2 separate regions of the Homo sapiens genome follow, and region 2 is linked to region 1. Evidence: promoter capture Hi-C in 16 types of primary human blood cells and fetal thymus (Javierre and others, 2016). All regions are on one chromosome and are shown on one strand. The core of a region is centred on a gene start or on the middle of the fragment in contact, and the rest is flanking DNA. Distances in the headings are between cores, read along the strand shown.

Evidence for each region. Contacts are between HindIII fragments. The CHiCAGO score rates a contact against its expected background, and 5 or more counts as called.
Region 2: a fragment that was not itself captured here is called in contact with the fragment with the promoter of FAM151B in region 1 in 1 of 17 cell types (neutrophils); the score reaches 5.4 in neutrophils.

The regions. Positions count from the first base shown.
Region 1 is chr5:80,484,220-80,492,186 of GRCh38, forward strand. FAM151B (family with sequence similarity 151 member B) reads left to right here and starts at 3,881. Exons shown (of 6, transcript NM_205548.3): 1 at 3,881-3,929. The coding sequence starts at 3,905. FAM151B-DT (FAM151B divergent transcript) reads right to left here and starts at 3,727. Exons shown (of 3, transcript NR_172938.1): 1 at 3,559-3,727; 2 at 1,247-1,342. RefSeq lists enhancers at 3,485-3,986, 3,987-4,486 and a silencer at 4,151-4,445. The HindIII fragment of the contact is 15,498 bases long and covers 1-7,967 here.
Region 2 is chr5:80,695,746-80,703,712 of GRCh38, forward strand. The region is part of intron 8 of MSH3 (mutS homolog 3); the gene reads left to right. Among named protein-coding and RNA genes, the nearest start is that of DHFR, 45 kb to the left of the region's middle. The HindIII fragment of the contact is 4,490 bases long and covers 1,387-5,876 here.

The DNA.
Region 1 (7,967 bases), core at 2,631-5,130:
CACATCTGGCTAATTTTTTCTTTGTTTTTATTAGAGATGGAGTTTCACCATTTTGTCCAGGATAGTCTTGAACTCCTGTCCTCAACTGATCTGCCTGTCTTGGCCTCCCAAAGGACTGGAATTACAGGCATGAGCCACCATGCCTGGCCAGATGGATTTTTTTAAAACCTAATTTATATGCTATCTATACAAGCCACTTATGATACAATGGTACATGCAGGTTAAAAAGTAAAAGGATGGAAAAAGATATTCCATGCAAACACTAAAAAGAAGAAGAAAAGGACAAAGCTGGAGTGGTTATTTTGCTATCAGACAAAGCAAACTTCAGAACAAGGAATATTACCCTGTAATTTATTTTTAAATTTATTTATTTATTTATTTATTTATGAGACAGGGTCTCATTGTATTGCCCAGGCCTAGGGTGCAGTGGCTATTCACAGGCACAGTCATGGCACACTACAGCCTTGAACTTAGGCTCTTAACCCATCCTCCTGCCTCAGCCTCCTGGGTAGCTGAGCCTACAAGTGCGTGCCACTGCACCCAGTTCCCCTGTGATTTATTATTGCATTTCATAGACTAGATACCAAGTTCAGAGAGAGAGTAATCTGTCCAAAGTCACACAGCTAGAAACTAAATTGGAATTTGAGGGAAAACTTTCTAGCTATTAGGACTCTGAAAATGAGGTAAGCTGTATTCATGCAGTGCTTTGTTTTGATTTTGAGACAGAGTCTCACTCTGCGGCCCAGGTGGAATGCAGTGGTGTGATCATGGCTCACTGCAGCCTTGAGTTCCTGGGCTCAAGCAATCCTCCCACCTTAGCCTCCTGATTAGCTGATACTACAGGCACATGCCGACACACCTGGCTTGTTTTTTATTTTTTCGTAGAGATGGGTCTCACTATGTTGTCCAGGCTGGTCTCAAAGTCCTGGTCTCCTCCTGCCTCAGCCTCCCAAAGTACTGGGATTACATGTGTGAGCCACCATGCCTGGCCTTTATTCATGTTTAGATGTCACCAAAAGCAGCCCCAGACTCAAGTTGGGGCCTGTGTCTCACATTCTAATCGTTATATTCTTTCCCCAGTGCAGCATGTACCCTTAACTTACAAAACCTTTTTTGTGCCAAAAAAGTAATTAGACTTATTTTTACCATAAAATTTCCAAACACTCAGAAGTAAAGGAAATAGTAGGATGAAAATCTATATACCCAGCCTACAACAATCCTCTGAGTCAACACTATCAAGACTTACCTCTTTTGCTTCATCCATCCCTTAATTTCTTTGCTGGAGCATTTTAAAGCAAATATCAGACATACCCTTTCACGCCTCACACTTCAACATGCGGCTCTAAAAATAAGGACAGTGAAGAGGAATTTTGAGTCAGTTATTGTAAAATATATGAAAATATTGTAATATTGTGACCAATATGTCATAAAAACTTAGCAAACTGATGCAGGAACAGAAACCAAATACTGCATGCTGTTACTTATAAGTGGGAGCTAAATGATGAGACACATGGACACAGAGTGGGGAACAACACACTGGGACTTTTGGAGGGTGGAGGGTGGGAGGAGGGAGAGCAGGAGAAACAATGAATGGGTACTAGGATTAATACCTGGGTGATGAAACAACCTGTACAACAAACCCCTATGATACAGTTTACCTGTGTAACAAACCTGCACTTGGACCCCTGAAGTTAAAAATTTTAAAAATGAAAAAAAAAAAAAGCCGGGCACAGTGGCTCACGCCTGTAATCCCAGCACTTTGGGAGGCTGAGGCGGGTGGATCACTTGAGGTCAGAAGTTCGAGACCAGCCTGGCCAACATGGTGAAATCCTGTCTCTACTAAAAATACAAAAATTAGCCAGGCGTGGTGGTGCGTGCTTGTAATCCCAGCTACTCAGGAGGCTGAGGCAGGAGAATCGCTTGAACCCGGGAGGTGGAGGTTGCAGTGAGCCGAGATCGTGCCACTGCACTCCAGCCTGGGGGAACAGAGTGAGACTTCATCTAAAAAAAAAGAAAAACAAGTTTTTTAAAAAAGACCTGTACTGCAATCAATGCCATCAAGAAAGTGAAAAGACAATCTGCACAACGGGAGAAAATATTGCAAATATTTGCAAATTACCTGTTAAGGGACTTGTATTGAGACTATATAAAGAATTCTCACAATTGAAATGAGCACAGGATTTGAGAAGACATTTCTCCAAAGGAAATATATAAATGACCGATAGCACCTGAAAATATGCTCAATATTATTAGTAGGGAACTACAAATCAAGATAATGAGGTAGTACTTCATATCTACTAGGATGGCTATAATTTAAAAAACATAACAACAAGTACTGACTGGTAAGGATGTGGGGAAATTGGAATCTTCATACATTGCTGGTGGGAATGAAAGATGGTACAGCTGATTTGCAAAACTGGCAGTTCCTCACACAGTTAAACAGTTACTATATGAACAAGTAGTTCCACTCCTAGGTATGTACACAGATATGCACACAGGAATGTATTCATATACGTCCACACAAAACTTGTCCATGAATGTTCACAGCAGCAGCATTCATAAAAGACAAAATGTAGAAACAACCCGAATGTCCTTCAGCTGTTGAATGGACACACATAAAATGTGGTATTTACAAACTGGAATTTATTCCAGCATAAGAAGGAAGGAAGTACTGATACATGCTAAAACATGGGTGAATTTTGAAAACATGCTAAGTGAAAGAAGCCAGTTACAAAGATCATACATACAGTCTGTGATTCTATTTACATGAAATTCCAGAATAGGCAAATTCATGAGACAGAAAGTAGATGAGTTGTTGCCTGGGGGTAGGAAGGGGGTAAATGGAGAGTGATTGCTTTGGAGTGATGAAAAATATTTTATCTGAAAGGCTGGGCAAGAATAACTCCCCTTTGTATTACGTGTCAGGTGATGTTAGTTATCCTAACTCTACCACTGGCAGATTGAGTTTTTTGGTCACAGAAGCTGAAAATGGCAGAGCTTTGTTGTTAATTCTGATCACTAGTTTGGCTTCAAAAAGTAATGAGTTAAGGAGGGCTAGAAAGACAGTGGATGGGAGGACCCAGTTGCTGAGAGCGTTTTCTGAGTGAACACTGGTAGAGAGACAGAAGGGGAGAGAAAACTTCAAGTTATCAGCTCGGTAACTTTGTACAAAAACTTATTTATTTATTTATTTATTTATTTGACAGTCTAGCTCTATCGCACAGACCGGAGCGCAGTGGAGCGATCTCGGCTCTCTGCAACCTCCACCTCTCCGGTTCAAGCCATTCTTGTGCCTCAGCCTCCCGAGTAGCTGGGATTACAGGCGCGCGCCACCACGCCAGGATAATTTTTTAAATTTTCAGTAAGGACGGGTTTTAACCATGTTGGCCAGGATGGTCTCGAATTCCTGACCTCAAGTGATCCGCCCACCTCGACCTCCCAAAGTGCTGGGAGTACAGGCCTGAGCCACCGTGCCCGGCCAGAAACACTGATTTTTATCAGTAATGATTCCACACCCTTTTAGGATATTACTAACATTTAAAAGAAAATATACCCAACTGTTGAAATTCGTGCTCCACTCCAGCAACTGCTTTCAATCGGAGTTCCATCCTCCGCCGCAGTATGCCCTAACGCAGCGTTATCTTCAGAGCTACCACCAGCTTCCGAAACCTTTCGGAGGAGCGCTTCGCCACCACCTGCACGGCGAAGCGGCGCGTAAACGAACCTCGAACGCCAGCCTTTGCGCCTGCGTGCCGCGGCTCCGTTTGGTTCCGCTTCGCTGGCGCCCGCCGGGCTCTTCCCCCGCCGAGGCCTGTGGTTTGTGGAGTCGAATTTCCCTGCCACCAGTGCCCGGTTAGCAGGGGCGCCAGCCTGGGCGCCTGCGCGGACGGCGGGCGTCGTCACCATGGCAGCATCCGCTGGAGGCCCAGGTAAGCGCCGAGCGCGCGGCCTCTGCCTGGAGGTGGGGCGCTTTGAGAGGCTCCGCCGGCCGTACCCTCCCTTTGCGGGCTCCCGCGGTCTTCCTTGCTAGGGACCTGGGAGCGCGCCGCGCAGAACCGGGCGGCTGGGCTTGGAGCCCGCTCTGCACTCGGGGCGCGCCCGCGATCGCCTGGCAAGGACCTTGGTTTGCCGGGTGGGCTCTAAGGGACAGGCGTTAGGGGAGGTCGAGAATGGCAGGGTCAGTGTCTTTTGAGGTCTGGGTTGGAAAGAAAGGAATGTGACGTTTCCCTAATCCTTAATTTCAGCCGACCGTATGGGGGCGGTCTGGGTCAGTAGGTTCCTCTTTGAAAGCTGGGGGAGGTTTGGGAATGCGGACTGGGCCGGGCCCGGCATAGTCCCGCTGCTGAGCGCGCTGCCTGGAAAGCTGGCAGAGTGTGCGGCTCGCTTGATTCCCCTTGGAATCAGGTGCTTCAACTCGCGGGACAGCAGTTCCGCTCTTGAAGGTTACAGTATCTTTTCTGTAAACTTAAGTAGTGGCATGAGACAACGTCAGTGACGCGTTCTTTCTTCAGTTTAGATTTTTTTCCCTAATTGTAAAAATAATACACGCTTTCACCATTCTGACTAGCAGGCTGTATAAATACAGGTTCTCTTCTGAATCGATGCACAGTTTACAGAATCTTGGAATAAAATGTGTGTGTAAGCGAAAAATGTCCAGGTCCTGATAAATGCCATTATAGAACATTTATAAAGTATATTAGTATAGGGAAATAGGAAAAAAAAATCCCCCAAATGCTGATACCCACAGGCACCACTACTAACTTTTTGGTATTTTCTAACAACCCTGACTCTTAAAAATAGAGTTAAGGTCATGGTAAACATAATTTTTAAAATCCTGCATCTTATACTATCCCATGTCACCAAGGTTTTTATAAACATAATTTTGAATGACTGAAGTGTTTTATACAATTATATTGTATACAATTATATTGTAATTAACCAGTCTCCTAATGTTGAACGTTAATCAGTCGTTTCCTGTTTTGTTTTGTTTTGTTAGAATTCATTCTGTAATGAACATTTTTGCATTGTTCTTCCTCAGTTATGTTTTTGGTTTGTTTTTATCCTGGACACGATTCTTGTAACTGAAATTACTGGATCAAAGGATGTGAACTTTTTTCTCTCTCTCTTTTTTAAGATCTGTGCTAAACCTCCGTAGAACATTTTTTCAGACCAGAGTTTTCCTTTTTTAACCCTTGTGCTCTTCTCAGTATAAATCCTTTTAATGCCTAGTTTTCCTAAGAATCCAAACAAATCTGGGACAAAGCTCACACTCAAGACTTACACCATTCTCACTCACAGGCTGTATAAATCCAGATTCTCTTCTGAATCGATGCAAGGTTTACAAAATCTTGGAATAAAATGTGTGCACAAGTGAAAAATGTCCAATTGCTGACAAATGCCATTTTTTAAAAAACAAATTTTTGGGCCGGGCGCGGTGACTCACGCCCGTAATCCCAGCACTTTGGGAGGCCGAGGTGGGCGGATCACGAGGTCAGGAGATCAAGACCATCCTGGCTAACACAGTGAAACCTCGTCTCTACTAAAAATCCAAAATAATTAGCCGGGCGTGGTGGCGGCGCCTGTAGTCTCAACTACTAAGGAGGCTGAGGCAGCAGAATGGCGTGAACCCGGGAGGCGGAGCTTGCGGTGAGCCAAGATTGCGCCACTGCACTCCAGCCTGAGCAACAGAGAGAAACTGTCTCAAAACAAAAACAAAAACAAAAATTTCTTCTCATTACCGAGTTATTGATAAAACTAATTCTTAACCAGATTCTTCCGTTATATGTCATTTTTCCCCCTTACACACACACACACACACACACACACACACACATTCTCAACATAAAAAAGTTCAAAAGGCACAATAGGATGTATAGTGAAAAGTTCCGTCCTGGCCGGGCGTGGTGGTTTACGCCTGTAATCTGAACACTTTGAAAGGCAGGAGGATCGCTTGAGCCCTGGAGTTTGGATCAGCCTGGGCAACACAGGGAGGCCTTATCTCTCCAAAAGAAAACAAATAAATTAGCCAGGTATGGTGGTGGCACATACCTGTGGACCCAGCCACTCAGGAGGAGACTGAGGCGGGAGAATCGCTTAAGCCGGAGAGGCTGCAGTGAACCAAGAACATGCCAGCCTGGGCAACAGAGCCAGAGCCTTAAAAAAATTAATAAATTCTTCAAAATCCTTACTGATGTACAATTTGCATACTATTAATATACAACTTATTTAAAGAGTATAATTCAGTGGTTTTAGCTTATTTATTTAATTTTAGCTTATTCACAGACTTGTGCAACAATTACCACAATTAATTTTAAAACATCTTCACCTTACAAAAAGAAACACTTCCCCATCCCCCACCCTTTAACATCCACAACTGCTATTCTTCTATTTTCTGTCTCTATGAATTTGCCTGTTCTGGATGTTTCATATAAATGGAATCATCCAATATAGACCCTCTTATGTCTAGCTTCTTCCACTTATCATAGTGTTTTCAAGATTCATCCATCTTGTAGCATGTTTCAATACTTCATTCCTTTTTATGGCCAAAAAAGGAATTGCATGAAACACCACATTTTGTTTATCCACTCATTAGTTGATGGACATTTGAGTTGTTTCCATCTTTTGGGTATAGTGAATAATGCTACTGTGAACATTTGTGTACAAGTTTTTGTGTGGACATATGGTACATTGTCTTTAATGGTAAGTCAATTCTGGTAGTCACTTTTGGAAACTGGAAGGAACCTTAATGATTGTCTAGTCCAGGGGTCAGCAAATAGCAAACTTTCTTTTTTAATTTTATTTTTAATTGACAAATAATAATTGCATATTTGCGAGGTACAATGTGATGTTATGATACATGTATACATGGTAGAATGATTAAGTCAGGCTAATTAATATATCCATCACCTCACATACTTATCATTTCTTTGTAATGAGAACATTTAAAATCTACTCATTTAAGAAGTTCAAAATATATAATACACTATTATTATTATTATTATTATTATTATCATTGAGACAGGGTCTCGCTCTGTCACCCAGGCTGGAGTGCAGTGGTGCAATCATGGCTCACTGCAGCCTTGACCTCCTGGGCTCAAGTGATCCTCCTGCCTCAGCCTCCTGAATAGCAGGGACTACAGGCACACACCACCATGCCTGGGTTATTATTATTGTTAGTTTTAGTGGTAGAGACAAGGTCTTGCTTCATTGCCCAGGCTGGTCTCGAACTACTGAGCTTAAGCAGTCCTTCCGCCTCAGCCTCCCAAAGTGCTGGAGTTACAGTTGTGAGCCAGCATGCCTGGAATTACTAACTATAGTCACCATTGCTGTGCAATAGATCTTGGGAACTTATTCCTCCTGTCTAACCGGAACTTTGCACCCTTTGACTGACATATCCCCCTCCCATCCAATTGCCCTGGCTGCATCCCTAGCCTCTGGTAACCACTATTCTGCTTTCTACTCCTAGAGCTCTACTTTTTGATGTCCCAAATGTGAGACTGTGCAGTATTTTTCTTTCCGTACCTGGCTTATTTCACTTAGCATACTGCCCTCCAGGTTTCTTCGTTTGTCGAAGATGACAGAATTTTCCTTTTTAAGGCTGAATAGTACCCCATTGTGTATCTATACCACATTTTCTTTATCCATTTACCCGCTGATGGTGCTTAGGTTGTTTCCATATCTTAGTGGTCAGCAAACTTTTTCTGTAAAGAACCAGAAATTAAATTTTGGGCTTTGCAAGGCATAAATTTATGTTCCAACTAATCAACTCTGCTATGGTAGCTGGAGAACAGCCACAGGTCGCACAGGGAAGGAGGTTGGGATAAATAGAGGGAGCACAGAGGTTTGGAGCAGCAACACTGTGATTCCGTATGATATTGTAGTGGTGGATACATGCCATTGTACAAGCATTCCTTGTTTTATTGTACTTCACTTTATTGTGCTTTGCAGATAATCCTTTTTTTTTTTCC
Region 2 (7,967 bases), core at 2,382-4,881, 210 kb after region 1:
TGGCTGCTCTGAAAGCTTTGCCAGTTAATTCTGACATCTCTGTTATCTTGGTGTTGGCATCTATCGATTGTCTTTTTTCATTCAGTTGGAGGTTTGGAGGTTTTCCTGTTATTTGGTATGATGAGTGATTTTTGGTTGGAACCAGTGCTTTTTTGTATTATGTTGTGAGATTCTGGGTCTCATTTAAGCCTTCTGTTCTAGCTGGCTTTCCCTGACACTGCTTCAGCAGGGTAGGGGTGTGCTGCCTCCTTATTGCCAGGTGGAGGTAGAAACCCAGGTTGCTTGGTTTCCGTTGAAACCCGAGGGAGATGGGTGCTTCTTGTTACTGCTGGGTCCCTGGAGGAGTTCCAGCTTCCCATGTGGCCTCCACTGGGCCTTCTCTGACACCATCCCCGTAAGGAGTGAGAAGGGAGTCTCAGTACTGCCTAGTGGGTGTGGAAGTCCAGTCTCTGTCTGGTGTTTCGCCTGATACCATGGGGGTTAAAGCCTCAGTATTGGCCAGCAAGGATGAACCTCTTGTTTGCTACTGTATGGCTGACACTGACACAATCCCAACTGGAGTTTGGAGTGCCTTCTTTCACCAGTGAGAATGGAAATCTGGGGTCCCAGCCTTTGCTAGCATGGGTGGGACCACAGGTTTTTCTCTGATGCTTGGCTAGAGTAGAGCGGTTATTGGCTAAAAGTTTTCTGTCTTGCTAGGCTTCCTCTTCTCTGGGGGTTTGTTGAGGCTTTTTTGTCTGTGCCTGTTGGTCTTTCCGGGTTGTCAGCTTTTTCAGCTCCAAGTCTGGGTTTTATGCTACAAAAAGTAAACCTGGGGAACTCACCGTCATACTGTTCCTCACATCCCAAGTTCACTAGCTGGTCTGCTTTCTGCTCACCTTTCAGAGTCGTCTTATGTTTGTTTGACATGTAATATGCAGGGAGTGGTACTTAGAGTAGGAGTGGGGAAACATATCTCCATTCCTTCTTCCCAGAAGCAGAAGTTCTTCAATCAAGATCTTATTTTAGAGATTGCTCTATGTATAAATGAACTTTGCTTCCTTGGTGTTATTTTGATCTAATTATAATAAAATTTGGACTTAGATTATATTGATAATGCCAGTGTGCAAATTTTAACTGCAATAGAATTGAATTTTGCACATGGGTGAATCTGATTGAGAAAAAGAAAATCCTATTTTTTATAATTAAAAAACTGCTTTTAATATTTTTAGTGCTGTTTACAGTTTAAGAATGTTAGTATATTTTTAAAAGCACAACCAGTGGGGAAAATTCTATCCCTTTTCTTGGCAAATTAACAATCTAAGCATACAAAAATTTATAGGAAAATTTTGCCAGCTCTCCATCAGAGTGCTGTCATGATGATTAGTTCATATTTCCTTCTTACGAAGCTTGCCCTTTCTTGTTTATCACCCACAGAAAAGCATCAAAGTTAAAAATTAAAAGTATTTGAAGGAACCTCCATACCAAGTGGATTCAGAGAGCCCAGAGGTCAGAAATCGTGCAGAGTCTTATGTTGACAGAGGAATGGCCCTGCCATAAGAAAGGTGCCTGAGTTATACAAGGTGTTGGCAGCTGGAGCCAAGTTACACCTGGTTTACTTACCTGATATAATTTTAAGTGCTTCACAAATAACGTTTTTTACCTTCATAGTTAAATATTTACTTAAGGTATATTAAAAACATATAATCAGTGAATCAAACCTGTGATTTCATAAATGTGTTGCAAAGAAAGATTCTTAAGTTGGTATTTGAGTTAAAAATGTGAGTTAACTTAACAAGAACTATCAGGTTATAGTAGTGATGTCCTTACAAATATGTCAGTATTATTGAAGGTAAAGGGGAATGACTGAAGTTAAGGAAACATGTTGGAGCAATTGTAAAGGCAATGTGTGTCACATTTTCTGCCACTTGTCATTTAGATTGTGTAAGCTAAATCTAGTATAAGTGGGACCATTGTTTGAATGAAAAAAAATCCAAACTTGAGATGTAGAGAAATATAGATGAATTTGAAGCCCAGAAAGGACATTTAAGCTCTCTTAAGATGAGTTACTCCATTTTTTATAGTAGCTCACCTTTTTAAAGGTATTTTATCCTGCTGTCAAGTTTATTTTATTAAATTGGATACCAGGAAATTCTAATTGATTTTTTTATATCAAACAAATCGATGTTATTTATTTATTTTTGAGACGGGGTCTCACTCTTCCTCAGGCTGGAGTATGGTGGCACCATCGTGGTTCACTGTAGCCTTGACCCCCCAGGCTCAAGCAATCCTCCCACCTCAACCTCCTGAGTAGCTGGGACTGCAGGTGTGCTCAACCACACCCAGCTAATTTTTTTTGTAGAGATGAGGCCTCTCTATGTCTTCTATACTGGTTTTAAACTCCTGGGCTCAAGCAATCCACCCACCTTGGCCTCCCCAAAATGTTGGAATTACAAGCGTGGACCATTGCGCCTGGCCAAAATCTGCATTTTGATGGATGTTTCCAGTAGATTCTCAAGTTGTTGATACATCTTCTAAGTTGAACATTATTATACAGTCATTCATTTATTCATCCTTAAACACAGTTATTGAGTGGCTGCTGTGCGCCAGCTTTGTTACTAGGTGGCAAGGATACAGAAATGAGAAAGATCCCTCCTTTCCAAGTTCTTATAGTCTAGAGGGGAGGTAGTCATGGAAATAATTGTAATGAAAGCGCTGGTTGAAAATATCTTAGAGTTACTGGCAGCCCTTGAGCATCATGCTAGTTTGCTAGAGGGGTGTGTTAGAATTGAGACTGGAAGAATGAATGCCAGTCAGGTGGAGGTGTGAGAGAGCGTGCTTTTCTTAGGAAGCAGAAACTAGTTTGGCTGGGTTACTCTGCCAGCATGAGCAGGCAACCTGAGGCAGGACAGACGTGTTTTGGAGAGAAAGGGTGTATAAAGCTGGAAACCATCATTCTCAGCAAACTGTCGCAAGGACAAAAAACCAAACACCGCATGTTCTCACTCATAGGTGGGAATTGAACAATGAGAACACTTGGACACAGGAAGGGGAACCTCACACACCGGGGGGCCTGTTGTGGGGTGGTGGGGGGGACGGATAGCATTAGGAGATATACCTAATGTAAATGACAAGTTAATGGGTGCAGCATACCAACATGGCACATGTATACATATGTAACAAACCTGCACGTTGTGCACATGTACCCTAGAACTTAAAGTATAATAAAAATATACAAATAAATAAAAAATAAAAAGAGAATCAAGAGTGAAACGGTGGAGTGAGAAAGCGGCATTACACAGGGCCTGGATAAAGAGTTTCCTGTGACAGAGACTGAGCTGAGATGGCTGGTGATGGGGACCGTAGCCTAGTGACCCTTTGTGTACCCAGCACCTATCAAAGTAGCTCACACATAATAGGTGCTTAATAAATGCTTGGTAAATGAATGATTAAATAAGTGATGTTTAGAATAAAGAGAATAATGGGTATCTCCTATTTGTTTTTCTTAACAAAACTGATTTGGGTTTTTTAAACATAGAAGGGTTGTTGTAAGGCTGGGCGTGGTGGCTCATACCTGTAATCCCAGCACTATGGGAGGACGAGATGGGTGGATCACCTGAGGTCAGGAGTTCCAGACCAGCCTGGCCAACATGGTGAAACCCCACCTCTACTAAAGGTACAAAAATTAGTTGGGTGTGGTGTCAGCACCTGTAATCCTAGCTACTTGGGAGGCTGAGGCAGGAGAATGGCTTGAACCCGGGAGGTGGAGGTTGCAGTGATTCAAGATTGCACCACTGCACTCCAGCCTGGGCAACAGAGTACAACACTGTCTCCAAAAAAAAAAAAAAAAAAAAAAAGGTTGTTGGAGTAGCTGGAAATCTATACATTAACATATATGGTAATCAATGTCTATTTACATTATATAGATTTACATTATACAGATGTAGCCAATTCATTTACTCTTTTGGAAAGATCATATTGATTTCTTATCGTTTTTTCCCCATTATGTTTATTTCTTTAAAAAATTTTTTAATATCACTGTAAATTGATTGAAGCATCCTGACATTTCCATAGATATTCCTTTACAGCAAATATTAATGGGATCTACATGGCTAAGTTACTGTTTAAAGATTGATATTGATGATAACTAGGCACTAGCCTCCCCTCTGGCGCTTGAAACCTTTTCTGTTGTGGTATTCGTAGGAAATCTCTTTTTTTCTTTATATTTTGTCTTCCCCATTTTCCTCATTCCTCTTTTCGAGAGCAGAAGATAAATATAAAGTTGACTACTTTGTCATTCTGTTTCATTATGTTTATTAGACGGTAGTTTCACTTAACTATTTAGATAATCTAGAATTAGAAAATAAATTGTGGGCCTGGCAGGGTGGCTCATGCCTAAAATCCGAGCACTTTGGGAGGCTGAGGCGGGTGGATCACTTGAGGTCCGGAGTTCAAGGTCAGCCTGGCCAACATGGTGAAACCTCATCTCTACTAAAAATACAAAAAATTAGCTGGGCATGATGGCACGTGCCTGTAATCCCACCTTCTCAGGAGGCTGAGGCAGGAGAATTGTTCGAACCTGGGAGGCAGAGGTTGCAGTGAGTCGAGATCTCCCCACTGCACTCCAGTCTGGGCGACAGAACAAATCAATTCTGGTAGTAGAGATGGTAGTGACTAAATGGAAGAAATAAATCTCATATGCTGTAGGAAAATGTTTGCCACTGGGAAACCATTTAAAGAGGAAGTGTTATTAGTATTAAAAAATCTGTCATTTTGAAATTTCTTTTTAAAAATTACATTAATTTCTTCCCTGGTGGTAATGCCATTGTATTTTCAGTAGGTTTTTTTTTTAGTCCTGATACTTTTTGTATATCTAGCTAGCAATTTTAATGGATGTGCTTAACTCATGAAAATCCAGATTTTAAAACATGATAAGTTAATAGGTGATAGTTATTTTATAAGAACATTTGCCATGAGTTTATTTAAAGAATGAGAGCTTCTTTGTGCATTTTCATCAAGTGCATTCTCCTCAGGAATATATCTCCTTGAAAAGAAAAAATGGGGTGTATTTGCAGTAGGTTTATTGATAGTCGAATAGGAAGAAACAGCATTTGAGAAGTGTGGAGAAAAGATCTTCCTGATTACTACAGAGACCTCCTAAAGTGGGGCCAGACTGCTTGAACAGAAAGTTTGGAAGCAATTGTGTGAGGTGTGCTGCATTTGTTTTACTAATTCGACTTGATTTTTGTAAATACACCTGTTCATTTGGGTTTGAGGATTTAATTGCATAAAGACTCTTTATTTAGCTAAAGCGTCTTGTCCTCATGGCTTTTCCCAGAAGTTTGTGTTATAAATGTTAATATATTAAAAGTGCTTTTAAATGATTTATTATTAGCATCTTAAAAAAATCCTACACTAAATATTAAAGTAGTCTTTATTATTTCAGGTGAAGGCAAAGGGAAACAGTACGAGTTGCAAGGTAGGGGGTAAATGGAAAGGAAGAAAAAGGAAAGACAGGAGATGAAGGGAAAGATTGAGTCCCATCATTCTTGAAGACACATTGTTCATGGCTTCAATAACCCTGGCACAGCCCTCTGAAGAAAGTGTAGTTATCCTCTTCTTTCTGCAAGGAGGCAGAGATGCTGTGAACCTCTCTTGAAGTTACAGGATCACTTAGGTAGTAAGTGGCAAAGCCCACTAGAGCCCTAACCCTGTTTGATACTGGTGAGTTCACCTGCTATCATTAAGGTGTAACCTGACAGCAATGTAAAAGACAAAAATCCCCCTTCACTGAACTCCAAATACAGTTACTGTCTGTCCTCAGGATCTCTTTATTTTTTTCTTCTCCTTTTCATGGTTCAAGGAGAGATCCCTTTTAATCTCTTCCCTTCCAGCAAAGCTTCCTTTCACTTTCTACCTGAAGTCAAAAACTTGAGGCCAGCTTAGTTCAGAGCTCCTCTGGGCTTGCTTATCTCCCAGCCTTTGTGGACTCCTTCTTGTCCATTTGTCTTTGTAATGACTTCTTCCTGTCGAACCTCCCTGCTGAAGGGAGACTTCTTACTAATTTCTCTTATTTTCCCTGCTTGCTTGCTTTGAGATTATTTTCTTATCTCTTGTTTTCAGGCCAGGAATTTCTTCCTCCTGCCAGCTTTTTTGTGAATCCTTTTTAACCTCTGGCCCAAGTCTTGATCCCTAAAGCAGTAAAAGCCTATGGAGGCCTGGTATGGTTTTTCTGTACAGTTTTTCCTCCCTCCCTTCTTTTTCTACCCTTCTTTCTGAAAAAACAACAGAAACAAAAAAAACCCAAAAACCCTCTGATACTTGATTTTGTATCAATAATCAATATACATTAATATAAAATTTATTAATATAAATTGACTTAATATACACAATACTGAGTTTTTTCCAGGCTTTTGTGGAAGCTCCCCACTGCAGTCCAGAATGCTCCGTGACCAGGTCCTAGGATTCTTTCCCTTGGTGCCATTGTGACTGCTCCCTTATTTTATACCTTCAGCTCTGTCCAGTTCTCTTCTTGGCCTGGCTGAGCTGGGCTCTGCACCTCATGGGAGTGGACATGAATCCTGAACACACCATGTGGGTGTACTGGGTTGTCCCCAACCTTAATGTGAAGGCAAGTTTAGAGAAGAATGCATGATGAGTGGGCTTGCATGCCTCCCTGATGGCCATATGGGAGCATGACCACACCACAGGGTTAGTCCTTACCTGGTGGGAGCCACTGGGAGCAGAGGAGTGCTAGGTATCGCATGGCATATTTAAGATAGTTTGTGTCCAGCCATGACATTTCAAGTGCTCATTAACTGCATGTGGTTAGTAGCTACTGTATAAGGCAATGTAGTTTTATAGACAGTAGCACAGCTGTATGCAAGAGATGGGCCTAGAAAGACAGGTAACACTTAACTAGACAGATTTGGGGGAAAATACATTCCTCAATGAAAGCAAAGTTTAAACAAGGTTGAAATAATTTATTTAAAAAAAAAAATAGCTGGCTGGGTGCAGTGGCTCACGCCTGTAATCCCAGTACTTTGGGAGGCTGAGGAAGGTGGATCGCTTGAGCTCAGGAGTTTGAGACCAGCCTGGGCATCATGGTAAATCCCTGTCTTTACTAAACATACAAAAATTAGCTGCGCATGATGGCAAGCAGCTGTAGTCCCAGCTAATTGGGAGGCTGAGGCAGGAGAATCACTTGAACCCGGGTGGCTGAGGTGGCAGTGAGCCGAGATCATGCCACTGCACTCCTCCCTGGGCGACAGAGCGAGACAAGCAACAGCAACAAAACAAAAATAAAAACAGCTAATGAAGTTCTTATTATGTACCTGGTACATTCTGCCATTACTGAAATTAACTGATGTCATCTTCACAACAATCCTTTGAGGTGATTACAATTATTATTTAATATGTCCATAATAAATGACAGGTTTAGGAATGTACATTTGAATTGTGGTTCTGACTGAAACATTGGGCAGTTGAGGAAGTACTTGATAAAGTGATTAGTGCCCTTTTTAAGTGTGAGCAATTTCTAGTTGCTAAGTCAGGGTATCATTTATGTATGAATTACCTTATAGGTAAGTATACTTTACATTCTTTTATGTAACTCCTAACTATCAACCTCCAGATATCACAAAGTTTACTTGTGGGTGATTAAATTGCTTAAGACAAGAGATTGCCCACCCATACAGAATTTCTATTGCTTCTGCCTTCCAGAGAACAGTGGGAGCAGCCTGGCCTGCAGGTTGATTGTCAGATTCTGCCTCCCTCCCACCTACTTATTCCTCCAGAGAGACACATAGCTTAGCCTCCTGTCACACTCTGTCATTTTCCTGGGGCTGCAGAGCAAAGGGCTCCCTCAGGTTAATTCTGAAGTCCTGTGTATGCTGAAGTCTGCTTGAAGAAGGAGAGAAGCTTCCATCTTGCATATTTCCTAATACTTTATCTTTCCTTCTGTAACAACAGTGCACAGATTTTACTTC